7 separate regions of the Homo sapiens genome follow, and all the other regions are linked to region 1. Evidence: promoter capture Hi-C in 16 types of primary human blood cells and fetal thymus (Javierre and others, 2016). All regions are on one chromosome and are shown on one strand. Each heading gives the region's core, a stretch centred on a gene start or on the middle of the fragment in contact. The rest is flanking DNA. Distances are from core to core; before and after follow the strand shown. Region 1 holds the start of RRM1 (ribonucleotide reductase catalytic subunit M1). Region 2 holds the start of CHRNA10 (cholinergic receptor nicotinic alpha 10 subunit). Region 3 overlaps NUP98 (nucleoporin 98 and 96 precursor). Region 4 overlaps NUP98 (nucleoporin 98 and 96 precursor). Region 5 overlaps NUP98 (nucleoporin 98 and 96 precursor). Region 6 overlaps NUP98 (nucleoporin 98 and 96 precursor). Region 7 overlaps NUP98 (nucleoporin 98 and 96 precursor).

What was found. The method cuts DNA at HindIII sites, captures the fragments that hold promoters and counts their contacts. A CHiCAGO score of 5 or more calls a contact.
Region 2: the fragment with the promoter of CHRNA10 here is called in contact with the fragment with the promoter of RRM1 in region 1 in 2 of 17 cell types (neutrophils and total CD8 T cells); the score reaches 6.2 in neutrophils.
Region 3: a fragment that was not itself captured here is called in contact with the fragment with the promoter of RRM1 in region 1 in 10 of 17 cell types (non-activated CD4 T cells, total CD8 T cells, naive CD8 T cells and 7 more); the score reaches 12.0 in non-activated CD4 T cells.
Region 4: a contact is called between a fragment that was not itself captured here and the fragment with the promoter of RRM1 in region 1, in 13 of 17 cell types (total CD8 T cells, naive B cells, total B cells and 10 more). The highest score is 18.0, in total CD8 T cells.
Region 5: a contact is called between a fragment that was not itself captured here and the fragment with the promoter of RRM1 in region 1, in 13 of 17 cell types (total CD8 T cells, non-activated CD4 T cells, total B cells and 10 more). The highest score is 16.8, in total CD8 T cells.
Region 6: a contact is called between a fragment that was not itself captured here and the fragment with the promoter of RRM1 in region 1, in 14 of 17 cell types (total CD4 T cells, total CD8 T cells, naive CD4 T cells and 11 more). The highest score is 30.9, in total CD4 T cells.
Region 7: a fragment that was not itself captured here is called in contact with the fragment with the promoter of RRM1 in region 1 in 14 of 17 cell types (naive CD8 T cells, total CD8 T cells, naive CD4 T cells and 11 more); the score reaches 34.9 in naive CD8 T cells.

The regions. Positions count from the first base shown.
Region 1 is chr11:4,092,891-4,096,645 of GRCh38, forward strand. RRM1 (ribonucleotide reductase catalytic subunit M1) reads left to right here and starts at 1,909. Exons shown (of 19, transcript NM_001033.5): 1 at 1,909-2,141. The coding sequence starts at 2,123. It overlaps STIM1 (stromal interaction molecule 1), which reads left to right. Exons shown (of 13, transcript NM_001382567.1): 13 at 1-318. RefSeq lists enhancers at 1,539-1,608, 1,669-2,138. The HindIII fragment of the contact is 7,950 bases long and covers 1,204-3,755 here.
Region 2 is chr11:3,669,723-3,673,477 of GRCh38, forward strand. It overlaps CHRNA10 (cholinergic receptor nicotinic alpha 10 subunit), which reads right to left and starts at 1,662. Exons shown (of 5, transcript NM_020402.4): 1 at 1,530-1,662; 2 at 74-219. The coding sequence starts at 1,590. The HindIII fragment of the contact is 7,798 bases long and covers 1-3,755 here.
Region 3 is chr11:3,693,640-3,697,394 of GRCh38, forward strand. It overlaps NUP98 (nucleoporin 98 and 96 precursor), which reads right to left. Exons shown (of 33, transcript NM_016320.5): 26 at 1,810-1,967. Among named protein-coding and RNA genes, the nearest start is that of CHRNA10, 24 kb to the left of the region's middle. RefSeq lists a silencer at 2,796-3,016. The HindIII fragment of the contact is 3,083 bases long and covers 146-3,228 here.
Region 4 is chr11:3,710,826-3,714,580 of GRCh38, forward strand. It overlaps NUP98 (nucleoporin 98 and 96 precursor), which reads right to left. Exons shown (of 33, transcript NM_016320.5): 19 at 2,993-3,170; 20 at 1,739-1,903. Among named protein-coding and RNA genes, the nearest start is that of CHRNA10, 41 kb to the left of the region's middle. The HindIII fragment of the contact is 2,688 bases long and covers 636-3,323 here.
Region 5 is chr11:3,736,012-3,739,766 of GRCh38, forward strand. All of the region lies in intron 12 of NUP98 (nucleoporin 98 and 96 precursor), which reads right to left. Among named protein-coding and RNA genes, the nearest start is that of NUP98, 60 kb to the right of the region's middle. RefSeq lists a silencer at 1-55. The HindIII fragment of the contact is 4,702 bases long and covers 1-3,755 here.
Region 6 is chr11:3,760,265-3,764,019 of GRCh38, forward strand. NUP98 (nucleoporin 98 and 96 precursor) reads right to left here. Exons shown (of 33, transcript NM_016320.5): 9 at 2,638-2,775; 10 at 275-362. Among named protein-coding and RNA genes, the nearest start is that of NUP98, 35 kb to the right of the region's middle. The HindIII fragment of the contact is 2,527 bases long and covers 340-2,866 here.
Region 7 is chr11:3,781,404-3,785,158 of GRCh38, forward strand. NUP98 (nucleoporin 98 and 96 precursor) reads right to left here. Exons shown (of 33, transcript NM_016320.5): 2 at 639-742. The coding sequence starts at 714. It also overlaps the pseudogene RNU7-50P. Among named protein-coding and RNA genes, the nearest start is that of NUP98, 14 kb to the right of the region's middle. The HindIII fragment of the contact is 2,478 bases long and covers 564-3,041 here.

The DNA of each region.
Region 1 (3,755 bases), core at 659-3,158:
AGGGGTGGCTAAGGAAGATGGTATAGGTGAAGGCGGCTGTGTGACCACTTTCCCCCACCCTTCCCACCCTCTAGACAACTCTCTCCCTTACCTGTTTTTGCTATGGCTGTAAAGGTATTTTTCCTCTGCCCCACTCCCTGCCATACCTTTATCCTGGGATCCTATTTTGGGCCTGGGGTGGGTATACCTGGGGCTGGTCTTAGGAGGGTGCTAGGCTGCAGACTGCCTTGTACTCCCTGGACACCCTCAAATGGGGTTTTCTGTGTTATTTCATAAAATTCTTTGAAGTCCAATAAAGCATGTAGGAGATTTTAACCACTGCTGGCTTTGACTCTCATTGTGTTCTCTGTGCTGTGGCATGATGGGATAAAGAGACAATCTTTCCTTTGCCCAGGGAAAATGAAACTTGAATGCACATGCCCAGAAGCTCTGTGGGCAGGGTTACCAGATAAATGCAGGATGACCAGTTAAATGTGAATTTCAGATAAACAGTTTTTAAAGTATAATTTTCTCTCATGCAGTATCTGGGACACATTTTTATTTGCTAAATTGGGAAACCCTATGTCTGGGTAAACTTGACCCTATCTATCCTATAACTTCACTTACGACTTTTAAAAAACATATCTATTTAATTTTTCTTTCTTTTTTTTTGTTTTTTTTGAGACGGCGTCTCACTCTCTTGCCTAGGCTAGGGTGCAATGGCGCGATCTTGGCTCACTGCAACCTCTGCCTCCAGCGTTCAAGCGATTCTTCTGCCTCAGCCTCCTGAGTAGCTGGGATTACAGGCGCGTGCTACCATGCCTGGCTACTTTTTGTATTTTTAGCAGCGGGGGGGTTTCACCACGTTGGTTAGGCTGGTCTCGAACTCCTGACCTCGTGATCTGCCCGCCTTGGCCTCCCATAGTGCTGGGATTACAGGAGTGAAGCACCGCGCTGGCCTACTTTTTCTATTTTTTGTAGAAATGGGGTCTCACTATGTTGCCCAGGCTTATCTCAACACCTGGCCTCACATGATGCTCCCGCCTTAGCCTCCCAAAATGCTGCAATTACAGGCTCACTTACGACTTTCCATGATTTTTGAAATTACTTCACAGGGAGCCTGGGCAGCTTCTGGAGGGCAGTGAGAAACCAACGAAAAGGCTTTAGGGAAAAGATGCCACAGATGAAATTTCATAAAGATCGCTTTGGGTAGCCCAAATCAGAAGCTTCTACACCAGCCTTACATATTACGGTTCTCATCTATTCTTATTCTCCACTCTAAGTCACCAAGTCCATCCTACCTCCACAAGGCAAATACCCTGTCTCTGCCACCATCCACTGAAGAACCCTAAAAGCAAATGGGTACTGACCCTGCCCTGCTTAAAATTCTCTCAGGGCTCTGATTTGCGTCAGGATAAAATCCAAACGCCATCGGCCTTGCGCGGTTTTCTTCCAGTTCCAGAGTGTCAGTCCTCTGGCCGATCTAAAAGCCCTGGGGCTCCAAGCTGCCCACGGCTGTGGAGCCTGGGCTGGAGCCCACAGCGGACGGCAGTGTTAGTATTATTATAATAAATGTCAGAGCAAGAAAAACGTTCCCGCCGGTTAGGTTTTGTTATTTCAAAAATAAATTAACCGCCTTTCCTCCGGCGGAGACGCGCAGGTGAGAGGGCGGCGCCTGACCCAGCGGGCTCTAGGTGCTACGCCAGGGCCCCGAGGGTCCCGAACTCGGCTTGCCCACACAAAACATGGTAGCAGGAGAGCAGCATTTCCGCCGGGCATGTCCATATCCAATGGGGCCCATGGGAGAGGCGTAGTCTTCTGGGTCTTGCCCAGACTCAACATGGCGGCTACACGTCGCCTGTCAGTCTGTGAAGCCTACCCCGGGCGTGGGCCGCAGCGTCGAGTAACGTCATTCGAACCCCGTCGCGCCCCTTTGTGCGTCACGGGTGGCGGGCGCGGGAAGGGGATTTGGATTGTTGCGCCTCTGCTCTGAAGAAAGTGCTGTCTGGCTCCAACTCCAGTTCTTTCCCCTGAGCAGCGCCTGGAACCTAACCCTTCCCACTCTGTCACCTTCTCGATCCCGCCGGCGCTTTAGAGCCGCAGTCCAGTCTTGGATCCTTCAGAGCCTCAGCCACTAGCTGCGATGCATGTGATCAAGCGAGGTGAGGGGGGGACGAGGTGGGCGAGAAGGAAGGTGAGGGGATGCGGGCTGCCGCCGCCGGAGCTGATGCCCAGACCGCCCGCCCGCCTTCGCTGCTTCCCGCCTTTCCCGCATTTCCCGCCGCGGCCTTCCGCCCTGTCAGCCCGCTCGGCCTTCTGTCTTCAGTCAGCCTGCCCCGAACCTCCTTCGGGCCTTCAGGCTGCGCCCCCTCGGCTTTGTCATCCTGCCGCCTTTCAAAAGGATAACACTTACCCCGTATCGAGTAGTGACTGCGTACGCCGAGCACTTGCCAGGCACTATTTTATTCCTCCCTGCAAGCCTCTGAGAGATGATTAGCTTATTACAGATGAGGAAACTGACGCTCAGAGCGAGGTGTCGCCGACTGACCCAAAGTCACCCATAGGTGACAATACGGTTTGATTTGAAAACCGTGGGGTTGGTGAGCTGTCTTAGGCACAGGGTCGGGGGGCAGCTAGGAAAGAAGGAGGGGGCCTCTCTACCCTCCGTAGGCACTTGTCAGTTTACTGATCTCTTTTGTGGGGTGAGGATAGGAGTGTGGCGTGGAAAAAACAGATCCCAGACAGACAGCACCCTCGAGTTCCTTTCCCTTCATGGGAAGAGATGCTGAATCAGAGAAGGGTGGCTGAGACATCTTCTGACAAGATGGGGACTGGGAAGAGTCAGGAACTCGTATTCTTTCTCAACAGTTCTTTTTCATTAGACTTGCCAAGTGCCCGCTTTGTGCCCAGCCCTTTGCTTGGCTTTGTGAGATTGTAGGAGGAGACAGTCCCTGCCTTGGGAACAGGCTTCATCGGGTTGGAAAAACAAGAGCAACATACTTTTAACAACCGCATGAGATACGTATGAACAAGTTTTGAGTTGAACCTACTTGCCTTTGTTAAAGCAATACAATGATTTCAAAATTGTAGGCACTTAGTAAATACTGGTTAATCGACTGGTTGTTTCTATTTTGTCCTCTAGGCTGTGAACATTTCAAAGATGGAGACTTGTTTGAGACAGAGTCTTGCTCTGTCACCCAGGATGGAATGCAGTGGTGTAATCATAGCTTACTGTAACCTTGAAGTCCTGGGCTCAAGCGATGCTCTTGCCTCAGCCTCTCAAGTAGCTGGGACTATAGGCATGCACCACCATGAGTGGCTAATTTTTAAAAATTTCTGGTAGTAAAGGAGTCTTGCTGTGTTTCCCAGTCTGGCCTTGAATTCCTGGCCTCAAACCATCCTCCCTTCCTTGGCTTCCCAAAGTGCTGGGAATACAAGCAAGATGGAGACTTTTCTGTTCACGTTTAGCACAGGACCTGACATGAACAGATTCTTAAAGAATGAATGAAAATAGTTGTATCAAAATGTAGGACACGATGAATGCTGTGAATAAGCAGGTAGTTGATTTGGTTTAACTACAGCCAATGTCCAGATTGGTTTAACTACAGACAAGAGTTGGAAAGGTGGACAGTAGTGGCCTTTCTTGTTTTTGGTATCTTGAGAACATCATTCTGTGAATTTTCCTAGCTCACATTTTAGCTGACCAAAGAGCAAAATAACATAGTGCACTTTTATTGATCCATTCATAAGAGTGAGAGCTGAGCATCTATTTTTGT
Region 2 (3,755 bases), core at 412-2,911, 420 kb before region 1:
CAGTCTCTCACCCCTTCATTTCTTGACACTGTGACAGGTAAGACTCCACAGCTGTACCACCACCACAACGCACCATGTCGATGATCTGGGACAGTGTCACCTCCAGGGTCACATTCAGAGTCTGGTCTGTGTCTGCCACAGGTCTCAGGGCACTTGTGTAGTTGGCAAAGAGGTCACGGAACAGCTTGAGAGCCAGCCGGCCCTCAGCTCCCAGGCACTCTGGAGGGTCAGTAAGGAGGGTTGTCCATCCCAGGCCCTAGTCCCAGGGCCTCTGCTCACACCCTCCACTCCCAGGGCTGGGGCCCTGTCCTTATGAGTGTCCTCCTGGTGTCTGCCTTCTCTTGCTCTAGCTGTGGCTCTAGTTCCTCCCTGGCCTGCCTGCAGGGACACATGAGGTAAAGGCCATGGAGTGAACTGGTACTATCTTCTGGCGCCAGGCTGACAAATTTCTCCTCCACCCTCCCCTTTTCAAGGACCTGGAGTCTGCCTGCCTCTCCACAAATGCTAGAGGGGCCCAAATAAGCCACAAGAGTCCAGACTTTCACCCAGGGATTCTAAACCCCACTGCTCTGCCCCCTCCAGTATCTCTCAAACCTGTTTCCACTTCTCCATCTCGAGCTGGTTTCTTCAAAACTTCTGATGCGATGGAACACTCCCTCACTCTGAAAACACACTTCCCCAGGCTTTACTGACACAAATTTTCCTCAATCCCTGACCTAAACATTGTTCCCATGAATCCTGTCCTTGGCTCCCATCTTTTTCTTCATCCCAGATTTTTCTCCTGAGCTCCAGACCCCAATAGAGTACAGTCCACTCCTGAGTTTCCCACAGGCACCTTCAACTCTGAGGGTCCAAAATATGAACTCGCTTCCTCCCTCCATGCTCTGAAACCTGCTTCCTATCCCATGTTCCCTATCTCAGCAAATAGCATGCCCTCAGCTTCAACAGTGACCTTAGTTGGAAATCTGGGAATTATCCCTCCCTTCTCCCTCTGCTGCCTCCTCCTCGGGGAATCCAGTTAATCTCCAGATCCTGTCAGATCATTCAAATCCTCCAGATTTTGCGAAACATCGTCTTGAGTCTACCCTCTCCCCTCCAGGTCAGGGCCCTCCCTTCACTGTCTCCCTTTCCCCAAAGGCTCACCTTCTTCTACCCCTCCCATGCCCCAGGACCACGCTTTTAAGCATGCACATCTGACCAGGCTAGTATGCTGCTGAAACCTTTCAGTGCTCCCCGTCATCTGCAGGAGAAAGACCTGGCCTGGCCGGCAGGCCCTTCAACATCTGGCCCCTCTGATTTTCCCAGCCCTGTCTCTGGAAGCTCCCCGCTCACTGTTTCCACCCTAGCCAGGCAAGTCTCCTCTCACGCACTTCAGCACCCCTCTCCTCCACACTCCCCAAATAGAGAGCTTGTTCTCAGAACAGGTACTGAGGAGAAACACAAGAGAGACTACATGGAAAGGGATTTTGGGAGAACAGGAATAGTAGCACCACCAGGAGAGGCCAGGGCTGGTGTACTGAGCTTCATACCTGCAGGGAGTAGAAACAGAAGCAGAAGGCCCAGGCTGAGGTGGTGGCTCCGGAGCCCCATGGCCCTGGCACTGCAAGAGCGGGGGCAGGTCTCTGGATGTGAGGCCTCCTGGCCAGACCTAGGGCAAAATTAGGCCCAGCTGGCAAGGATGGTGTGGACAGTACCTAGAAGTCAGAAGTAAGACAGATCTCTGGTGGGTCCAGCCACCCTCCAGCGAGCCCTGCAGCCCCTCCAGTCTTCTGACCCTCCAATTTGTGCCTGCCCCTGGATTTTAGTACTTGGTCTTTCTTCTTCTCTGCTGGTCCTTGCCTCTTCTGGCCTCTGCCTCTGCCCTTTCCTATGCTCCCCACCTGCTTTGTCTTTCACTCTGTTTCTGCTTCCTTCTCTTTCCGTCTGTAACTTTCTTGGTCTCTCTGCCTCCCTGACTCTGATCATCCCCTGCCTGCCTCTTTCCACTCTCTCTCCCTTTCTCCTACTTCTGTTTCATCCCTCATTCCTTCCTTCTTCCATTCCCCACACCTGGACTCTAGATGGGCCTGCTGCTCTCTCAGCAGAACAGGGACCAGGGACTCCTCCCTTGATCAGCCCAGAGTCGTCCGAGGCACAGGACCACAGCCCCTCCCTCTCTGCCCTTTCATTAGCTTAATTACACCGTGCCTATGACAACAGAGCAACGGAAACTGATACCTCGGGCCTCTGGGGCTTGAATTATTCAAACTCTGTAAAGCAGCACACAGACTCAGCTCAGGCCCATCCTCGGGTGTTGGAGAGTACAGGTATGCTGGGTCAGGGTATGTGGAAGACCAGGGCTTAAGAGTGTGAGGGGCCAGGGTCAGTGGATGGATAACTGTCCTCTCATCTTAGCCACCATTGCCTGAATTCTGGAGGTGGAGGTTTGCCTTAGACCTGCAGCTCTCCTTGCAGTGCGGGACTAGACACTCCAGGCTAGGCACTTTGGGTCAAGCAAGCCCTTCCCTCCTGGTGGGAGTAGTGCTGAGCCTCAGGCCACTCCAGATGACCCAGTGGAGCAGAAGATGGAGCCCACATCCTCTCCTCAGACTCCCTGCAGTCATTCCCATCTGAGCCTGTTTTTTCACCTTGCCCAAACACTGTGGGCAGTGTGGGAGAAGAGGGCAAGCATTCAGTCACTTTCGGCCCTGTCTTATGAGCGCTCTCACTTGGGTAAGATATTTAAACTCTCTGGGTTTCTGTTCTCTCAATCTGGTAATGGGATTAACAGTACTCATCTTGAAAACTGCAAGGATTTAAATGAGATAACCTGATAGTGCAAGGCACTGTCTAGCACGGTGCCTAAGGTACAGCAGGTCATCAACAATATTTACACTGTGGTCCCAGTAAGGTAGCCAGGCTATCCTCAGGTCACAGGTATTTATCATGCACAGAGTTTTGATTATTTTTGTTCAAGCTGACCAGTTGCCTGACCAACAGCAGCACATACTTCCCTGGCAATCACATCCATAGCCATGACTTTGGGCATCGTGGATATGCCAGTGATTCCCTGCACTTTCTCCACCCGTCCCCTCTCCCAGGTACTCTGCTTATCTCCAACCACCTTCCTAACACACAAGCGTTTCACATCATTTCAAATTGAAATCCAACATTCACTTATTCAAGCTAGTAGAGGGGAACTGTCCTTAACTTGTTAAAGAACAACTACCAAAATACCCTACAGCCATCCTGCCACCTCAGCCTCCTGAATAGCTGGAACTAAAGGTGCACACCACCCAGCTAATTTTTGTTCATTTTTTAAGAGACAAGGTCTCCCTATGTTGCCTAGGCTGGTCTTAAACTCCTGGGCTCAAGGGATTCTCCCTCCTCAGCCTCCCGAGGTGCTGGGATTACAGGCGTGAGCCATCGTGCCCAACCAATACAAGGTTTAACAAATCCTTAGGAAAGCCTAAGAAATGAACATTTAAAGCAGAAATTAAGATTATACAGAACTCCAGTAAAATTGATTAATACGTCTAAGGACTGGTTATTTGAATAACAAAAAATCTGGAACAATTTTCTGGAAATACAAATTAACAAAACTGAGCTAAAGATGAAACATCTAAAAAGAGCAGATACTCTGCAGGCCTTTGCTTAATTATTCCAATATTTAATTCTCCAGACCTCTGTTAACTTTGGGTTCTGTTGAGAAAATAAGTTATTTGAATGTTGTAGATTCCACAGATCTATCGAATGTTGAGGTAACTGGTTCCTGT
Region 3 (3,755 bases), core at 437-2,936, 400 kb before region 1:
TCCTCAGCCTCCCAAAGCATTGTGATTACAGGAATCAGACACTGTGCCTGGTCCCAGGATTTAATCAATCAATCAGTACTCAAATGAGATGAGAGCCATTGAGAGCAGAGAGATCTTCTCACTGTCTATGGTTGTCAATGTATAAAGCTTTAAAATGAGCATAAGTGCTGACCAGCTACATTTTTATTTCTGAAAATACTTTAAGATAATAATATAAGAGGTAGGCAGTGATAAGAGAAATGGCTTAAAATAATTATAACCCAACAGCCATAAAATGGAACATAAGTGGCTATAAAAAAGAATAATGCCAGCCAGGCACTGTGGCTCACACCTGTAATCCCAGCACTTTGGGAGGCCGAGGTGGTCGGATTACCTGAGGTCAGGAGTTCCAGACCAGCCTGGCCAACATGGTGAAACCCCGTTTCTATTAAAAATACAAAAAAAAAAAAAGGCCGGGTGCAGTGGATCATGCCTGTAATACCAGCACTTTGGGAGGCCGAGGTGGGTGGATCACCTGAGGTCGGGAGTTTGGGACTGGCCTGGCCAACATGGGGAAACCCGTCTCTACTAAAAATACAAAAATTAGCCAGGCGTGGTGGCAGGCGCCTGTAATCCCAGCTACTTGGGAGGCTGAGGCAGGAGAATCGCCTGATCCTGGGACACAGAGGTTGCAGTGAGCCAAGATTGTGCCACTCACTCCAGCCTGGACAATAAGAGCGAAACTCTATCTCAAAAAACAACAACAACAACAAAAATAACGCTTCATGACATGAAAAAATATTCACATACAGTAGGTTTAAAAAAAAAAAAGCTGCAGGGGGCCGGGCGCGGTGGCTCACGCTTGTAATCCCAGCACTTCAGGAGGCTGAGGCAGGCAGATCATGAGGTCAGGAGACCGAGACCATCCTGGCTAACATGGTGAAACCCTGTCTCTACTTAAAATACAAAAAATTAGCCCAGCGTGGTGGCAGGTGCCTGTAGTCTCAGCTACTCAGGAGGCTGAGGCAGAAGAATGAGGTGAACTTGGGAGGCGGAGCTTGCAGTAAGCCCAGATCGTGCCACTGCACTCCAACCTGGGCAACAGAGCGAGACTCTGTCTCAAGAGAAAAAAAAAAAAAAATGCTGCAGGGCTGATGCAGTGGCTCATGCCTGTAATCTCAACACTTTGGGAGACCTATAGGTGACAGGATCCCTTTAGGCCAGGAGTTCAAGACAAGCCTAGGCAACATACTGAGACCCTATTGCTATAAATTCTTTTTTAAATGAACAAAATATAAATAAAAAAAATCACAGAACTCCTATGTATAATTTATTTCATTTGTATATACAAACATGTAAATAGGAACAACATATATGTGGATGTAGACTTAAAAACTAGCTGTGTATGGTAGCGTGTGCCTGTAGTCCCAGCTACTTGGGAGGCTCAGGTGAGAGGATCACTTGAACTTAGGAGATGGAGGATGCAGTGAGCCAAGATCACCCCACTGTACTCCTGCCTAGGCAACAGAGCCAGACCCTATCTCAAAAAAATTAATTAACTAAACTAGAATATTTCTGTGAAGATAAAATTATTTATATTGTTTACCACTATATGATATGGGATATGATACATTTTAACATTTTAATTTCTATACAACTAGATTTTTAAAAGTGTGCATGCCTGCCTTTATAATTTGAAAATTGTCCAATGTGTAAAACATTTTGTGTAACTGTGCACAATTTACAAAGATCACTCCTTGCCTCAACCTCAAACCAGCTTCAATTTATGAAAAAACCAATGTGAGATATTATGGTAAAAGTAGAAGATACCGGTTTTCCAGCCAACAGAGCAAAGATGCGCAGTCTCTCATCCTGGATGAAGGAGTCTGCTTGGAGCTGATGCCAGTCCACCAACTGCATGGTGAGCAGCTCCCGGACTGACTGGCTACCCACAAACTGAGATAAAAGAAGAGCAAGACGATGATCCCCTATAAGAGAAATGGAAGTTTTTTGGTTATTACTAAGGGTTTATGGACTTCGTCAAACACTTGGGGGCATTATCTTCATTTCTTCCAGCCTTCAGAAGGGAGGATTTAACATTGTTAACTGCTTTCTGCAGTAGTGCCAAAATATTGATCAAAAACTTACCATTTTCTGCTTGGATAGAAAATTTGCAAAGTAGTTTAACCTAAATTACCTATAGACTGAATAGCATATAGACATCAACAACAGATCTACCACTACTTCTGTGATACTAGGCAAGACACCTCAGCTACAAAATGGAGGAAAACAGCCCGGCATGGTGGCTAATGCCTGTAATCCCAGCACTCTGGCAGGCCAAGGGAGGTGGATTACTTGAAGTCACGAGTTCGAGACCAGCCTGACCAACATGGTGAAACCCCGTCCCTACTAAAAATACAAAAATCACCGGGCGTGCTGGTGCACACCTGTAATTCCAGCTACTTGGAAGGCTAAGGCAGGAAAATCACTTGAACCCATGAGTTGGAGGTTGCAGTGAGCCAAGATCGCACCATTGCACTCCAGCCTGGGCAACAAGAGCGAGACTCTATCTTAAACATAAAAAGGAAAAATGGAGGAAAACACTGGGCACGGTGGCTCACACCTGTAATCCCAGTGCTCTGGGAAGCCAAGGCGGGCAAATCACTTGGGGTCAGGAGTTCGAGACCAACCTCGCCAACATGATGAAACTTTGTCTCTACTAAAAATACAAAAATTAGCCTGGCGTGGTGGCACGTGACTGGAGTCCCAGCTACTCAAGAGGCTGAGACACGAGAACCACTTGAACCCAGAAGGCAGAAGTTGCAGTAAACAGAGATTGCACTACTGCACTCCAGCCTGGGTGACAGACCAAGACTCTGTCTTGGTGCAGGGGGGAGGGAAAAAAAAAGGCCGGAGGCAGTGGTTCACGCCTGTAATCCCAGCACTTTGGAAGGCTGAGGCAGGCGGATCACCTGAGGTCAGGAGTTCGAGACCAGCCTGGCCAACATGACGAAACGGCATCTCTACTAAATATACAAAAGTTAGCCGAGTGTGGTGGCACGTTACCTGTAATCCCAGCTACTCAGGAGGCTGAGGCAGGAGAATCGCTTGAACCCAGGAGGCAAACGTTGTAGTGAGCCAAGATTATGCCACTGCACTCCATCCTGGGGTACAGAGCGAGACTGTCTCGAAAACAAAAACAAAAACAAAACAAAAAACAAAAAAAAAGGGGGGGAGTAGTAAAGCAAAAGCTTTTAGTAACCTAAAAGGCAGTACCTTTACCAGAGGTTTAGCCTTACAGTCAAAATAAACAGGAAGAAAGTGGAGTTTATGAATCAACAGCCCTAAGAATCTGACTCTGGCATGCCTTAAGATCCTCTCCTACTACATGTTGGTGTCCTGGTGAGCATAACCTTTTTTTAATGATTCATAATAAGTTCATACAAGATCAATCCCAAAGATAAATTCTCACTGTACAAATGCACAAAGACCATAAATAGTACCAGACGGAGGCTGGATGTGGTGGCTCACGCCTCTAATCCCAGCACTTTGGGAGGCTGAGGCAGGAGGGCTGCTTGACGCCAGGAGTTTGAGACCAGCCTGGTCAACATACAGACCCCATCTCTATTTAAAAAATAAAAAGAAAAGAAAACAGGAAGCTACCAGGCTAAATGTGTAGTGACAGTGGAATGCAACAAGCCCTTTATATAGCTTACTGATTCTGGCTTTTCCTGTGATTTGTTCCTTATAATCCCAAAAGTGGCAAAACTCTTCAA
Region 4 (3,755 bases), core at 730-3,229, 380 kb before region 1:
ATAATGCAAGTAAACAAAACCTAAAGTCTGGACATTTAAATACCTCTATCCATTTCTCTCATTTCTGCTCTTCCCAACCAAAAGGTCAAAGACCATTTCCACTTCCTCAGTCAAAGCTACTTGCCCATTTTAGGCTAGCCATGGTGACTCACGCCTGTAGTCCCAGCACTTTGGGAGGCCAAGGTGGGAGGATCACTTGAGGCCAGGAGTTCAAGACAACATGAGTTGAGGCCAACATGGCAAAATCCCCTCTCTACTAAAAATACAAAAAATTAGATGAGTGTGGTGGTATGCCCTGTAGTCCCAGCTGCTTGGGAGGCTGAGGAATGAGGCTGCTTGAACCTGGGAGGCAGAGGCCACAGAGAGCCGAGACTGCACCAGTGCACTACAGCCTGGGCGACAACTCTTTCTCAAGGAAAAAAAAAGCTACTTGCCCATTTTAAATCCTTACTACCTCTTTTTGCTAGAACCTTGATCTGAAATTTTTGGGTGCTCAATTTTTCAAAGAGCTCTCACAAACACAAGTGTCAATATAGGAGTTTATAGTTATTTTTCTACTATTTCTATTCTGGCAATTAAAGAACCTAGAAACTACTGTCAACATTACAAACATTTTCCTGTCTGTCCATAAATGAAGCTTTTCTTTTTCAGCTGGGCCAACTGGAAAGAGGTTATCTTTAAGATCCTACATATTACTTTTGTTACAGAAAATAAGGCCATCTGACTCTTTCCCTCAGAAATACATATATTTATAATAAATATATATATAAGGTTATAAAAAATTAGGAAAGAAGGAGATGATACAAAGCATATGACAGACAAAATGAATATGGATAACTGGAAAACCAAGTCTATAGCATTTCATTTGTCAATGGAGATTTCTTAGGGGCATTCTAAATGCTACCAAGATTATAAACATAAAAGTCAATATATTTCCAGTTTCCCACATTTATCATACCCTCCCCTCCCCTGTACGCGCAAACATGTATATACACACATTCTCCAGAAATGCCTCCTAAGAGATTATTTAATAAATCATAAAAACCACACATTTCAGCAGCCATAAGAATTATAGCATGGAAAATACCAAAGGTCTAGCTTTCAGCAGCTGAGAGGTAGAGGATGCTTTACAAAGAAATCCCGTATCAATGATACAAGTAATTGCGATAAACAATGTAGGCCCTAATCTCCCCAAGCCAAATAATAATTCATTTACATTCCCAAACTATTTTTCATAAAGATTATGTACTATTAAAATACAAATATCAAGGTTACCCGAAGTATAAGCAAACAACTTTAAAAAAATGGAGATTAAAAACCCTTTCAGAAAGCTAATTTAACTTTTAAAAAACCATGGAGGTAAAGAAAAAGATTAAACTGCACATCAGGTAGTCAATAAAGGCAGAATTTACTGTGCATGAACCCACATGAGCAAATCTTAAGTTAATCACTGAGCAGAGAATTCAGCAAGTCCAAATGAGAGAGAACAAAGGGTTTAAAAATGACAATCTGTAGAGGAATAATCCAAACAGCAAGAGAATTCTTTAAATCTCTCCAGTAAAAAGACAGATGCCTGCAAGACCTCACGCCCTCCCTTGCACTTGTTTCAACGTGATTGCCAATGTTTGTACTCTTCAAAGTTCCAAGGGTCATAAAACAGCTTTGTATTAGCTGAATGACTTGCTTTCAACTTCGGTATCACGGATTCCATTCAAATTCACTGTCCTTTTTTCTCTACCTGAGGTGGAGGTGCAGGTTTGCCATTAAGAGCCATCTGCAAGGGCGTAGTCTGGCTTGCAGGAGGCAAAGGAGCAGTCTTCAACTTCTTTGTACTAGTTTTAGACGGATGCTCCTCCTCCTCTTCATCAGAATCCTGAAGGCCATACTTAGAAAAATGGGAGACCTAAGGAAGAGAAGAACCCCACAAAACAACTTAAACATTATGCTTTCCCAATACCTGCCTTTGCAATCTTGCAGCATTACCTTAAGAAAAAAGAAAGAAAAGGGGAGAAATATCTAAGTATTTAAAGCAAAATATATCACCTATCACACTTTTATCTAAGATTTAGAAGACGTTTGATGTATGCTCTAGTTGCTCATACTAGTAAATTAATAAAGATTACATAATATACATTAAAATGTCATTTAAACTGTAATCATTAATATAGGAAACTTAATCCAAAGACTTGTTATTATTTTCACAGACATATATTGCCTGTTATCCTCTATCTACCCAAGGGCCTTTAACAAGTTAAATAATTCAACCAGCCTAGAATGGGAGGAAATCATTGGATTAAACTATTACGGACAGTCAACCTCTTCATCTCCAAAAATCTTTAAAAGTAAGAATGACAATTACATAGGAAGAGTTGATCCAATAGACACCTGCCTGATGAATTACTGAAGTCCCTAATGATGACAAACATTAGAAAAACTACACCTTAGAAATGTATTTATAAATCCTCATAGGAGTTGGGTAGAGGACTTGAATCACGAGCCCACAGTTTGTAAGAACTCATTACTGCTGAATTTTAACTAGGTTTGTAGTTTGGAGTGAATCATAATGTATCTGTACATCTCTCTCCAAATTTCTAAAAATAAAGAGAATTTGGCTGGGTATAGTGGCTTACACCTGTAATCACAGTACTTTTGGGAGGCCAAGGAGGGAAGACTGCTTGATCCCAGGAGTTGGAGACCAGCCTGGTCAACACTGAGAAACTCGATCTTTACAAACATTTTAAAAAGTAGCCAGGCATGGTAGTGCATGCCTATAATCCCAGCTACTTGGGAGGCGGAGGCAGAAGGATTGCTTGAGCCCAGGAATTTGAGGCTGCAGGGAGCTATGATCCCACCATTGTACTCCAGCCTGAGCAACAGAGCAAGAACCCCATCAATCAATCAATAGAATTTAGCAAAGGATCCCTTCCAACATAAACGTTATGTGACTCCAAATATAGTTTATAAAAGTCTGAACTGGGTTAAATGACTATACCTTAAACACCCAAGAACCAGTTTCAGGCCGGTATTCTTTGAATTGAGCTCCCTGTTTCCTTGAAACTGCTTCCAATCTTCCTTCATAGTTGATATCAGCAAGGCGATCTGGGCTCTTTATTAAACAACGAGATGTTTTATCTGTTGGCCAAACTCCATCCAATGTAACTTCAGCCTTCCTGTAAAACATAACCAATTAAAGTAACCAATTAAAGTAAAAGCGCTTCATATATAAGACCAGAAAGCCACCTAACACATAAATAGTGAATAATGGTAACTATGCTGCCTTGGAATTATTCTGCATGTGTCATAAACTTGAGTTTTGCCCCATAAGCTTAAGAGCAAGGAGTCACTCCTACATTGACAACTCAATATCTGGTTCTAGAGTCAGACTGCATTTATTTAAATTACCATGGTACATCAATTATTTCCAATCTCATTTTCACACTTAAGCTAGGAATCACTAACTTATTTAAGTTACAGTCCAGTGGTACGAACCAAGTCTTATGCAGGTCTTAAAGGGCTACCGTACTAAATAATAATAAAAAACAGCTACTACCCATTTACTAAAAACAAATGCTTAGAAAATGAAGTATCAGGAATATCGGTATGAAGATGACTACAAGAGTGGTGGTGTACCACTTCTAATATTAATACCAGAGTTCAAGTGTTGTATCCTATTCATTTTGTATGCCTTACATCTAAACACAGTGACTACTAGGATGTAATAGGTAGATGCTGCTCTCCATTTCCTGCTTCCCGGA
Region 5 (3,755 bases), core at 413-2,912, 360 kb before region 1:
TAACCTCAGACTCCCAAGTAGCTGGGACTACAGGGGTGAGTCACCACACCAACAACAGCTAATTTTGTGTGTGTGTGTGTGTGTGTGTTTTGTTTTTTTTTTCAGAGATGGGGTTTCGCCATGTTGCCCAGGCTGGTCTTGAACTCCTGAAATTGAACTATCTGCCCACCTTGGCCTCCCAAAATGCCAGGATTACAGGAGTCAGCCACCATGCCTGGCCTCTATTTTTTAACCTCATAATTTTAATCATGAAAATTTAACTCGAACTAGAAAGAAAATAAATTCCTAAGCATTCACTGCATAGTATATATACAGTCAAGATATGGAAACAACCTACGTGTCCAATATTAAGTTAATAGTTGTAGGCGGGGTGCAGTGGCTCATGCCTGTAATCCCAGCACTGGGAGGTCGTGGCGAGCAGATCACTTGAGGTGAGGAGTTTGAGACCAACCTGGCCAATACAGTGAAACCCCACCTCTACTAAAAATACAAAAAATTAGCTGGGCGTGGGGGCGCACACCTATAACCCCAGCTGGAACCCAGGAAGTGGAGGTTTCAGTGAGCCGAGATCGCGCCACTGCACTCCAGCCTGGGTGAAAGAGCGAGACTCTGCCTCAAACAAACAAACAAAAAAGTTGTAAACATCATGACACATCAACATAGGTTATGTAGTTATTAAAAATAATAATTTGTTTCATTGTGGAAATATGAAATTATCTTTAAGTAAAATTTCCAGAATAAAAATATTATGTACATTAAGGCTACAGAGGAAGGCAGCATACAAACAAAAATGTGGTTTTTTCTTTTCCCCCAAATCCAGGTGTCTTCCTGAAGAAAATGCTTAGGCTATCCTTATAAGTTTATTATTTACATTTATTTAACATTCACATAATATAAACTGAAAGAAAAAAGAAATCACTAAGCCTAATTTTTTCTCAAAGTGTAAGAACATCTGTTATCAATTGCAGAGAATTTAGGGAACAGACATAAGTAACAATGAAGACTATTCATGATCTACCATTGTACCAAGTAAAACATTAAGAAAAAAGCAAAACCACTACAGTATACCCTGACTGAAGAAGAAACCTCTTTGCAAGATAAAATCTCTTTCCAAAAATACTGATCAAAACCCAAAACATAATAAAGTCATTTTACAGACAAAAATACTACCTTTTTCCCTTATAAACATTTACAAATAAAGTTACTGCCAAAATATAATACAATAATCCACAGTAAAGGAGTGACATAAAACTTTCTGAAAAGTCTCACAATGTTGTGGGGAGTGGGTGGAGAACAAAAGCAGTAATAACAAAAAAAAAAAAAAAAAAAAGAGGCTGGGCGTGGTGGCTCATGCCTGTAATCCCAGCACTTTGGGAGGCCGAGGCAGGCGGATCACAAGGTCAGGAGATCGAGACTATCCTGGCTAACATGGTGAAACCCTGTCTCTACTAACAAAATAGAAAAAATTAGCCAGGCATGGTGGTGGGCACCTGTAGTCCCAGCTACTCCGGAGGCTGAGGCAGGAGAATGGCGTGAACCCAGGATACAGAGCTGGCAGTGAGCCAAGGTCGTGCCACTTCACTCTAGCCTAGGCGACAGAGCGAGATTCCGTCTCAAAAACAAACAAACAAACAAAAACAGAACAGGCTGCTATAGCTAAATTAATGAAAAAGAAGAGTCAAAGGTTTCTTAAAATCGATGTATTCAATAAATACTAAAACACCGTACATTCATGTTGATATTTAACTAGACAGGACAAGTTTGCTCAGGATCTCAAACCAAGAGATGTCAATTTTAAGAGCACAGAGTAAATCATCTGTATTCAGAAAGTTCCTAAATCCAATTTAAGAGCAAAAAATAAAGAAAAGTTTTTTTTTTTTTGGTACACAGTACTACAGATTAACAGCATACTGCTATTTTGGGGACTATGCAAGGAGACTCAAGAAAAACTTTAGAGAACTCCAAACCTCACTGGTCATTTTGTTACTGGACAGGCAATTACTCATTTAGAAAACTGACCTGTCTTAGTTGATCCCATCGTTTAACAAGTACAAATCATTCTACCTGGGCGTTCTCAAAAAAAAAAAAAAAAAAAACCAAAGACTTCCTTTCACAAATCCAAACACAAGAAAGTGCATGAGCATGATTTTATATCTGTATGAATAAATATAAACTTTGTGTTAACTGTAGTATTTAAAGACACAGGTAAGAGAGTATCTTGATAGATTAGCAAAAACAAGAAAACAAACAAGCACTAGTTAAGCAACTACTGGTATTACATTCAATCTTGGTCAAAATAATTTGAAAACTTTCCAAAGAACAAATTCCAAAGAAATTTCAAAATAAAAGATTCCAAAAAACTAAATCATAACCAAATGATTAAAGGGATAGGGAAAAGTACAAAAACCAAGTCTTCTGATGAAACACAAGAATCTGATGATACTTTATCCAGAAGAAAGTCAGTGGGTTACCACAAATATACTACAGCAAGGCATGGTGGCTCATGCCAGTAATCCCAGCACTTTGGGAAGCTGAGCAAGCAGATTACTTCAGGTCAGGACTTCAAGAATAGCCTGGCCAAAATGGTGAACCTCTATCTCTACTAAAAAATACAAGAATTAGCCGGGCATGGTGACACATACCTGTAGTCCCAGCTACGCAGGAGGCTGAGACAGGAGAATTGTCTGAACCCAGAGGCAGAGGCTGCAGTGAGCCAAGATGGTGCCACAGCACTCCAGCCTGGGTGACAGAGTAAGACTCCTCTCAAAAAAAAAAAAAAAAAAAAAAGGAAAGAAAGAAAAGAAACCATACATACTAGACTGGTTTTGCTTAGCTTTAGGAAATAAAAGTAGAACCACTGGGTGGAAACTCTATGGAGGAAGGATTTGGTTTCCACACAACCAGAACAGAAGAACAGACTGTACTGCCTGTAAGGAAGCCACCATACCTGAGGTTTTTTTAAGACAAGGCACACTCACATAGTTCTAAAGTACCTTCAACTAAGATTCCGTGGTATAAAGATGTACATTCTAAAAGTAAATACAATTACCTTTAAATGGGCAGTAATGTTAAGGCACACAAATTTAATATTAACTAAATTCTTGTGTCAGGAACTTTGGAAAAAGAGATGGATTATTAAAAACCAGTCAAAAAGCTATACAAGTAAAAATGGCATATTACAATAATTTATGCTACCACCTTCTACTAAAACCAATAAAAAATGAGAAAAAAATAAAATTAAAACAATTTTTTTTTTGAGACAGAGTCTTGCTGTGTCACTCAGGCTGGAGCGCAGTAGCGCGATCTCGGCTCACTGCAACCTCTGCCTCCCAGACTAGGCAATCCTCCTGCCTCGGCCTTGCGAGTAGGTGGGATTACAGGTGCCTGCCGCCACGCCCGGCTAATTTTTGTATTTTTAGTAGAGACGGGGTTTCACCATGTTGGCCAGGATGGTCGAACTCCTGACCTCAGGTGATCCACCCGCCTCGGCCTCCCAAAGTGCTGAGATTACAGGCGTGAGGCACCGCACCAGGCCTATTTTTAATGATAAAGCTAAGTATAAAATCCGCACAGAGATCAATGAAAACTCGAATTCACCTCCGCTCTCTCCAAGACCTTATTAAATCTTTGGCTAAAAAATATTAACATTTATATATATAAACCCACAATGACAAACAATGGGAAGGTGGCAAATGAACACATGAGAAAATCTAACAAATTTCTAGGGGAAAGATGTGGACAGAGGACTGATCAAG
Region 6 (3,755 bases), core at 353-2,852, 330 kb before region 1:
TCAGCTATTGCTGAAGTAATCCAAAGTAAATGAAAGGCAATTTACATGCCTACTAATTATCTCAAGCCATATCCAGGACTTTAAACCTTTCCCTCTGGTACTTCACATCAAGCTACCGCTTACCTGAGAACTTTTAAATATTTCCAATCATACGAATCAGGAGAATAACGTGTGGTATAGTCAGTGTAACTTTAAGAGAGCCAAACCTGCTTTTTATATGTACCAAAATTAGAAGTGTTTGTATTGGTTCCTAAAGTCAGGGTTGGTTTGTTACCAAAGAGCCCGCCACTGGTTGTACCAAATGAAGGTGCACTGGTTGTGCTGCTTCCAAATGTAGTAAGCTTGTTATTGCCAAACAGGGTCTAAAAAGAATAGAATACAGGAAAATTTAAAATAATATTAAGACACACACCAAACTAAATACAGGTTACCTCAGGTATACTGGGTTGGGTATGGGGTGGGAGAAAGATGTCCTAACATTCATAAAAAAGGTAGAAAAAAGATGAATAAAGGCTATCAAAAAATAATCTGGGCAAGATTAACTTTATAAACACGGAATGCTTCTGGCCTGAAAAGTTAATGGTAACCCCTAAGGATTACGACTGAAACACAATGAATCCAATGAAACCAGATTTCAGTGAGGCAAAGAAAAAAATAACAAGGCCATCAAATATCTTTTTACCTGTTAAGAGAAATGTAGCAAATACTTGCTTTGCCAGAAGAAATCACTACAAGAAAAACTTTGAACATGCTACATGGATGTTCCTTGAAAATGCTATGCTAAGTGAAAGACATCAATCACAAAAGACCACATATTATGATTCCATTTACATGAAGTGTTCAAAATGGTCAAATCCATAGAGAGAAAGTAGGCTTAAGATGATTACAGGAAAATCAGGAGTGACTGCCAATGACTATGGCATTTCTTTTTGGCATAATGAGTATGTTCTAAAATTAAATATGGTGATAGTTGCACACTTTGTTGATATACTAAAAATCACCTAGCTATACACTTTAAAGAGACAAATTGTATGGCATGTGGACTATACATCAATAAATCTGTCACTAGAAAGTACTAGAAGCCGGGCACAGTAGCTCACGCCTGTAATCCCAGCATTCTGAAAGGCCAAGGCGGAAGGATCCTTGAGGCCAGGAGTTACCAGCCTAGCCAACGTGGCAAAATCCCACCTCTACTAAAAAATACAAAAATTAAGGCCAGGAGTGGTGGCTCACGTCTGTAATCCCAGCACTTTCGGAGTCCAAGGCAGGTGGATCACGAGGTCAGGAGTTCGAGACCAGCCTGGCCACCATGGTGAAACCCCATTCTCTACTAAAAATACAAAAATCAGCTGGGCGCAGTGGCGGGCGCCTGTAATCCCAGCTACTCGGGAGGCTGAGGCAGAGAACTGCTTGAACCCGGGAGGCAGAGGTTGCAGTGAGCCGAGATCGCACGCCACTGTACTCCAGCCTGGGCAACAGGCGAGACTCCGTCTCAAAAAAACAAAACAAAACAAAACAAAAAACAAAACAAAAGCCTGGCATGGTGTCACACGCCTGTAATCCCAGCTACTTGGGAGGCTGAGGCACGAGAATCGCTTGAGCCTGGGAGGGAGAGGTTGCAGTGAGCCGAGATCATGCCACTGCAGTACAGCCTGGACAACAGAACGAGACTCGGTTTCAAAAACAACAACAACAACAACAACAACAACAGAAGTACTAGAATGTCTTGAAGCATTATATAATTTTCTCAATTTCTTACCTCAATTATCTGTCCAAAGTTTAAAAAAAGAAAAGAGAAATTTCAATCTCCATGAAAACAGGACCATATGTTTTAGGGACTTTGTGTTCCTTTTTTATTTTTTAAGACAGAGTTTTGCTCTTGTTGCCCAGGCTAGAGTGCAATAGCGCGATCTCGGGTCACTGCAACCTCCACTTCCTGGGTTCAAGTGATTCTCTTGCCTCAGCATCTCAAGTAGCTGGTATTACAGGCACCCACCACCACACCCAGCTAGTGGTTTTTTTTTTTTTTGTATTTTTAGGAGAGACGGGGTTTCACCATGTTGGCCAGATTGGTCTCGAATTCCTGACCTCAGGTGATCCACCCACCTCGGCCTCCCAGAGTGCTGGGATTACAGGCGTGAGCCACCGCGCCTGGCTCTTTTTTAATTTTTTTAACCTACTCACAATAGCAAGTTCAAAGTTTCTTCCATGAGTACCTCAACAATTTCAACAATTTGATCAACCCCAAAAACATTTCATTCCCAAACATCATACCAATTTATCACCTACAAAAGAGGGAAGAACTAGGAGTTAAAAATTATCTGATTCAAATAAAGCAAAAGAATTTCAATTTAGACTCAACAATTTAACCAATGCTATCAGAAGTATGATGCACATAAGCACTGAGGCAAAGAAATTTTAAAAGGGAAAGAATTTACTAATTGAAAACAAACCTGAAGTTAACCTGAAATTTCATTTTATATCAAATAATTTTTTGTTCTCAGAATCAAATCATATTAGGCTGGTGCAATAATACACCCAATAAAAATACCTGCAAAACAGTCAAATCCTTAGAAGAAAATTCCTTTTAACAAATTTACACACATCTTCAAATTACAGTCAACTGCAGAAACCTACCGAACCAACAGCACCAAATCCAGTATTGGTCTGCCCAAAGAGACCTGTTCCTGTTCCAAATGCTGTCCCAGTGCTGGTGTTTGTAGCTGTCCCAAAAAGACCTCCAGGCTGTGAGGCTTGGGTTACTCCAAATAATCCCTGCAAAGAAGTTTATATAGATTAAAAGATATCCTGTAATAGTTTCCGTAACGAATCTCAGAGTAATAAAAAAAAAGTTACCATTTTTTCAAGCTTATATGACAGATATTAGGCTAAATAACTTATATAGATTATTTCCTTCAAAACAACCCTGAAAAGCAGGGAGTATATTTTTCAAAAAGCTCAGAGCATTTTAAAACTTGCCCAAGGTGCCACAGCTCCTGAATGGTAGGAACAGAAGTTCAAACCTATATTTAAGCCCCTGTTCTTCCCAGGATGATGAACTCCAAGGTCTTAGGCGTCTATTAAATAATAAGACTTTAACTCTTGTGCTCTAAGAGATGTCAGGGTTGCAACACTGAGAAGCAAAATAGTATGTCTAGGTCCTTCATTTTCAACGATTTAGGTGAAAAGAACTAATCAGTATCAAGCTGGGGAGTGAACTTAGAATCAAGTAACCAAAAATAATCAGCGAAAATAAATCAACACGGACCGAGGTACGAGTGTTATGTTAAAGAGCCTTAATTCCTTTTTTTGATACGGAGTTTCGTTCTGTTGCCCAGGCTGAAGTACAGTGGCACAATCTCGGCTCACTGCAGCCTCTGTTCAAGTGATTCTCTCGCCTCAGCCTCCCAAGTAGCTGGGACTACAAGGGCACGCCACCAGGCCTGGCTAATTTTTGCATTTTTAGTAGAGATGGGGTTTCACAATGTGCCCAGGCTGGTCACGAACTCCTGACCTCAGGGGATCCACCTGCCTCAGCCTCCCAAAATGCTGGCGTGAGCCACTGCACCCAGCCAAAAGCCTTAATTCTAAATGAGAAACTATACTCATTTCCAATGAGCAGTCTGCATCATCCTATGTTTAACAATGTATTTTACTTATGCATTAATAAAGGAAAAATATTGTGCTAATAGACTTGCTGAATAGGGAATTCACTTTTTAAAGTTTTATTGAGACACAATTCAAACATCATAAAA
Region 7 (3,755 bases), core at 553-3,052, 310 kb before region 1:
AGCTCTTTTAGAATTTGTCTAGCAGGGTTTCTGGTTTTCACCAGGAAACAAAATTTTTTTTTTGCAGAGGGGGTGGACTTTCTGGTTTTAAAAAAAAAAAAAAAAAAAAAAAAACCCCTCCACAAAAATTTTTAACAAAAAGTTTAAATGTAAATAAGGATTGCTTCAGGCAATTAGTCATACACGATACTGGGTAGGAAGGGAGGTAGATCTCCGGAGGGTTGATGGGAATTAGACACTTCCACATTTTAACATTTCTGTGACATGAATGTCACATCATGTTCACAGGGTAAATTCCAGGGCAGTTATTTCATAACTGCATTTTAGACTTCAACATTAAGAGAATTATTTTCTGGTCTGAAAATTAGTAACAAATTATAACTTTCTGTCAACCAAAATAATATAAATATTTTAAGTATCTTCTACTGACAATCAGAAGAAGGCCATGAAAACTTAGAATTTATTTCTACTTTCTTAAAAACTGTTAAAGAGATCTTATCCTAATTATTTTTTCAAGACGACTTTGTTATAAATATGAAAGTAAAAATAAAATTCCCACCTAAAGCTTATCAGAGTGGATTTGTTCTTAGTAAGGGAGATTAAGGTTTCTCCCTCTTTTGTCCTTTTTAAAAACTTACTCTGTCCAAATGTTGAAGTTGTGCCAAAGCCACCTGTGCCACCCCCAAAGGGTGTTCCAAATGATTTGTTAAACATCTTCAAAATGAGTCTTTGTTTCAGAAAGCTGGGAAAAAGAAAACATTATCACTCTCTTAAAGACCACAAAATGGAATATAATTGTTTTAGAAAATCTATCATTCCACAAACTTAGGCCTATTCGAACTATAGTATATACTCTCATTCAAAATCCTCAAACTGTATGATAAAATAAACCTTGTAAAATGATCTTTATAATCTACAATGTTCCTGAGCTGAACAGTAAGGTTAAACTTCATAATGTGAGGTTAAACTTCAGATCCCAACATTAACCATCCATTTAAAACAATGTTTTCAATCTTTTTTTTTTTTTAACCTAAGTCCCCTTTTTAATCAATAAATATTTCAGGTCTACAAGGCAAGATGTTTATATGATCCTCATAGGAGGTTATGAATCATATCCATCAAAAATTAAAACACAGTCTGCTAACCCAACCACCTAAAAAGCTAACATTTTTTTTTTTTTTTTTTTTTTGAGACAGAAGGACGTGCAGTGGCTCACTGCAACCTCCTCCTCCTTGGTTCAAGTTATTCTCCTGCCTCAGTCTCAAAGTACCTGGGATTACAAGCGTGTGTCACCATGCCTGTCTAATTATTTGTATTTTTAGGAGAGACAGGGTTTCACCATGTTGGCCAGGCTGGTCTTAAAAAAACTCCTGATCGAGTGATCCACCCACCTGGGTGCTGAGATTACACCACCAAAGTGCTGGGATTACAGGCGCAAACCACCGCACCCGGCCAAGGCTTTATTTTCCATAGTTTGCATTATAAAGTTTCTTTCTCCCCTACCTTCGAGGGATATAAAACATGGTAATAGTAAATGTTTTTCAAATTATGCATGCCCCGCCTTCTATCTCTAAATCCCAGAGATTCTGGTGCCCTGACATTCTCTTTGAGATTACGTTTTAAGACTATTCTCTATGGTCCCCTACTTATCTATCTTCTACTTCTAAGATTACAGAAAAACCTTTGATGAAAATCCCTCACCTCTGGCCAGGCACAGTGGGCTCACACCTCTAATCCTGACAGCTTGGGAGGCTGAAGCGGGCTGATTGCTTGAGCCCAGGAGTTCGAGACCAGCCTGGGCAACATGGTGAAACCCTGTCTACAAAAAATCAAAGTTGGACTGGTGTGGTGACACGGGACTGTAGTCCCAGCTACTCTGTTGGCTGAGGTGGGAGGAGCGCTTGAGCCCAGAAGGTGGAGGTTGCTGTGAGCCATTATCATGCCACTTCCCTCCAGCAAAGGTGATAGGGTGAGACAATGTCTCAAAAACAAATAAAAAAAACTGCTCACCTTGGCTGGGCGCGGTGGCTCACGCCTGTAATCCCAGCACTTTGGGAGGCCAAGGCGGGTGGATCACCTGAGCTCAGGAGTTCAAGACCAGCCTGGTCAACATGGTGAAACCCTGTCTCTACTAAAAATACAAAAATTAGCCAGGCGTGGTGGTGCATGCCTGTAATCTCAGCTATTTGGGAGGCTGAGGCAGGAGAACTGCTTGAACCTGGGAGGCAGAGGTTGCAGTGAGCTGAGATCGCACCATTGTACTCCAGCATGGGTGACAAGAATGAAACTCTGTCTCAAAAACAAAAACAAAAACAAAAACGCTCACCTCACATAAATTATTTTACTCCTGTATCCAAACTATGCACCCGGTCATTTAAGGAACTGAACCAAACTGTTCCAAGAACGCCTACACAGAAAAGTTTGGTTCCCCCTGTCTGAATAAGAATAGCTTCATAGTGAAACACCCAAGAATGATCAATTAAAAAAAAATAAATAAAATAAAAATAAAAAATAGCTTCATAGTTTACTCAGAGCTTTCCCCCTCCACAAATTTTCCTTAAATTTAGATGCCTGCTACCTCTTTTCTGCTAGCAGACAATAAATTAATAAGTAAACTACTTTCAGCATAAAAACTCTGAAAACAGTCAATCATGCTCATCTGGATTCTGTGACAGAGATGATGATTTTTCTATTATAGCCACACAATGTATGTAAAGAGTAGTCTTTTCTTCTAGGAAACTCAGGCCGTGTTCATATAATAGAATTAAATATTGCATTTTGAGGTCTTCCCCAAATTCTAGTATCCCACTAACACTTCCAGTCATTCTAATAACCAAACATTTTGTGCAACACTGAAAAAGATAAGGCTGTCCCTTAAATAAATGCTTTACAGAAATATTCTCTCTCCTGAAATTTCCTAGGAAAAAAAATCAAATACTTAAGTTCTTTATCTCAATATCCAAAAACTGAGTAACTCCTTTGATTAAACAAAGCTCACTAAAACCAGTGGTTCTAGAGGGCCACATCAGAATTAGGTGGCAAGCTTTTCAAAATACAAACTCTGGCTGGTTACACTGGCTCACATCTGTAGATCCCAATGCTTTGGGAAGCTGAGGCAGGATGATCTGCTTAAAGCCAGACAAGCTTGGACAACACAGCAAGACTCTGTCTCTATTAAAAACAAAAAAAAAACAAAAAAAAACAAAAAACATGGTGCACACCTGTACGAAGCTCCAGCTACTAGTGAGGTTGAAGCTAGAGAATCACTTTAGCCCAGGAGTTCAGGCCTGCAGCAAGGTACAATGGTGCCACTGCACTCCAGCAAGCAAGCAAACAAACAAAAATACAAACCCCCAGGCTCCATTCTAGAAATATTGAACAAAAATGTCTAGGGCTGGGGTACAGACATTTGCATTCAGAAAAAGTTCAAGTTACTCTAAAGCACACCCTTGGCCGGGCGCGGTGGCTCACACCTGTAATTCCAACACTTTGGGAGGCAGAGGCGGGCAGATCACCTGAGACCAGGAGTTCGAGACCAGCCTGGCCAACATGGTGAAACCCCCGTCTCTACTAAAAATACAAAAATTAGCCAGGTGTGGTGGCAGGCGCCTGCCGTCCCAGCTACTCAGGAGGCTGAGACAGGAGAATTGCTTGAACCCCAGAGGTGGAGCCTGCAGTGAGCTGAGATCGTGCCACTGCACTCCAGCCTGGGCAACACAGCGAGACTCTGTCTCAAAAAATATAAATGAATAAAA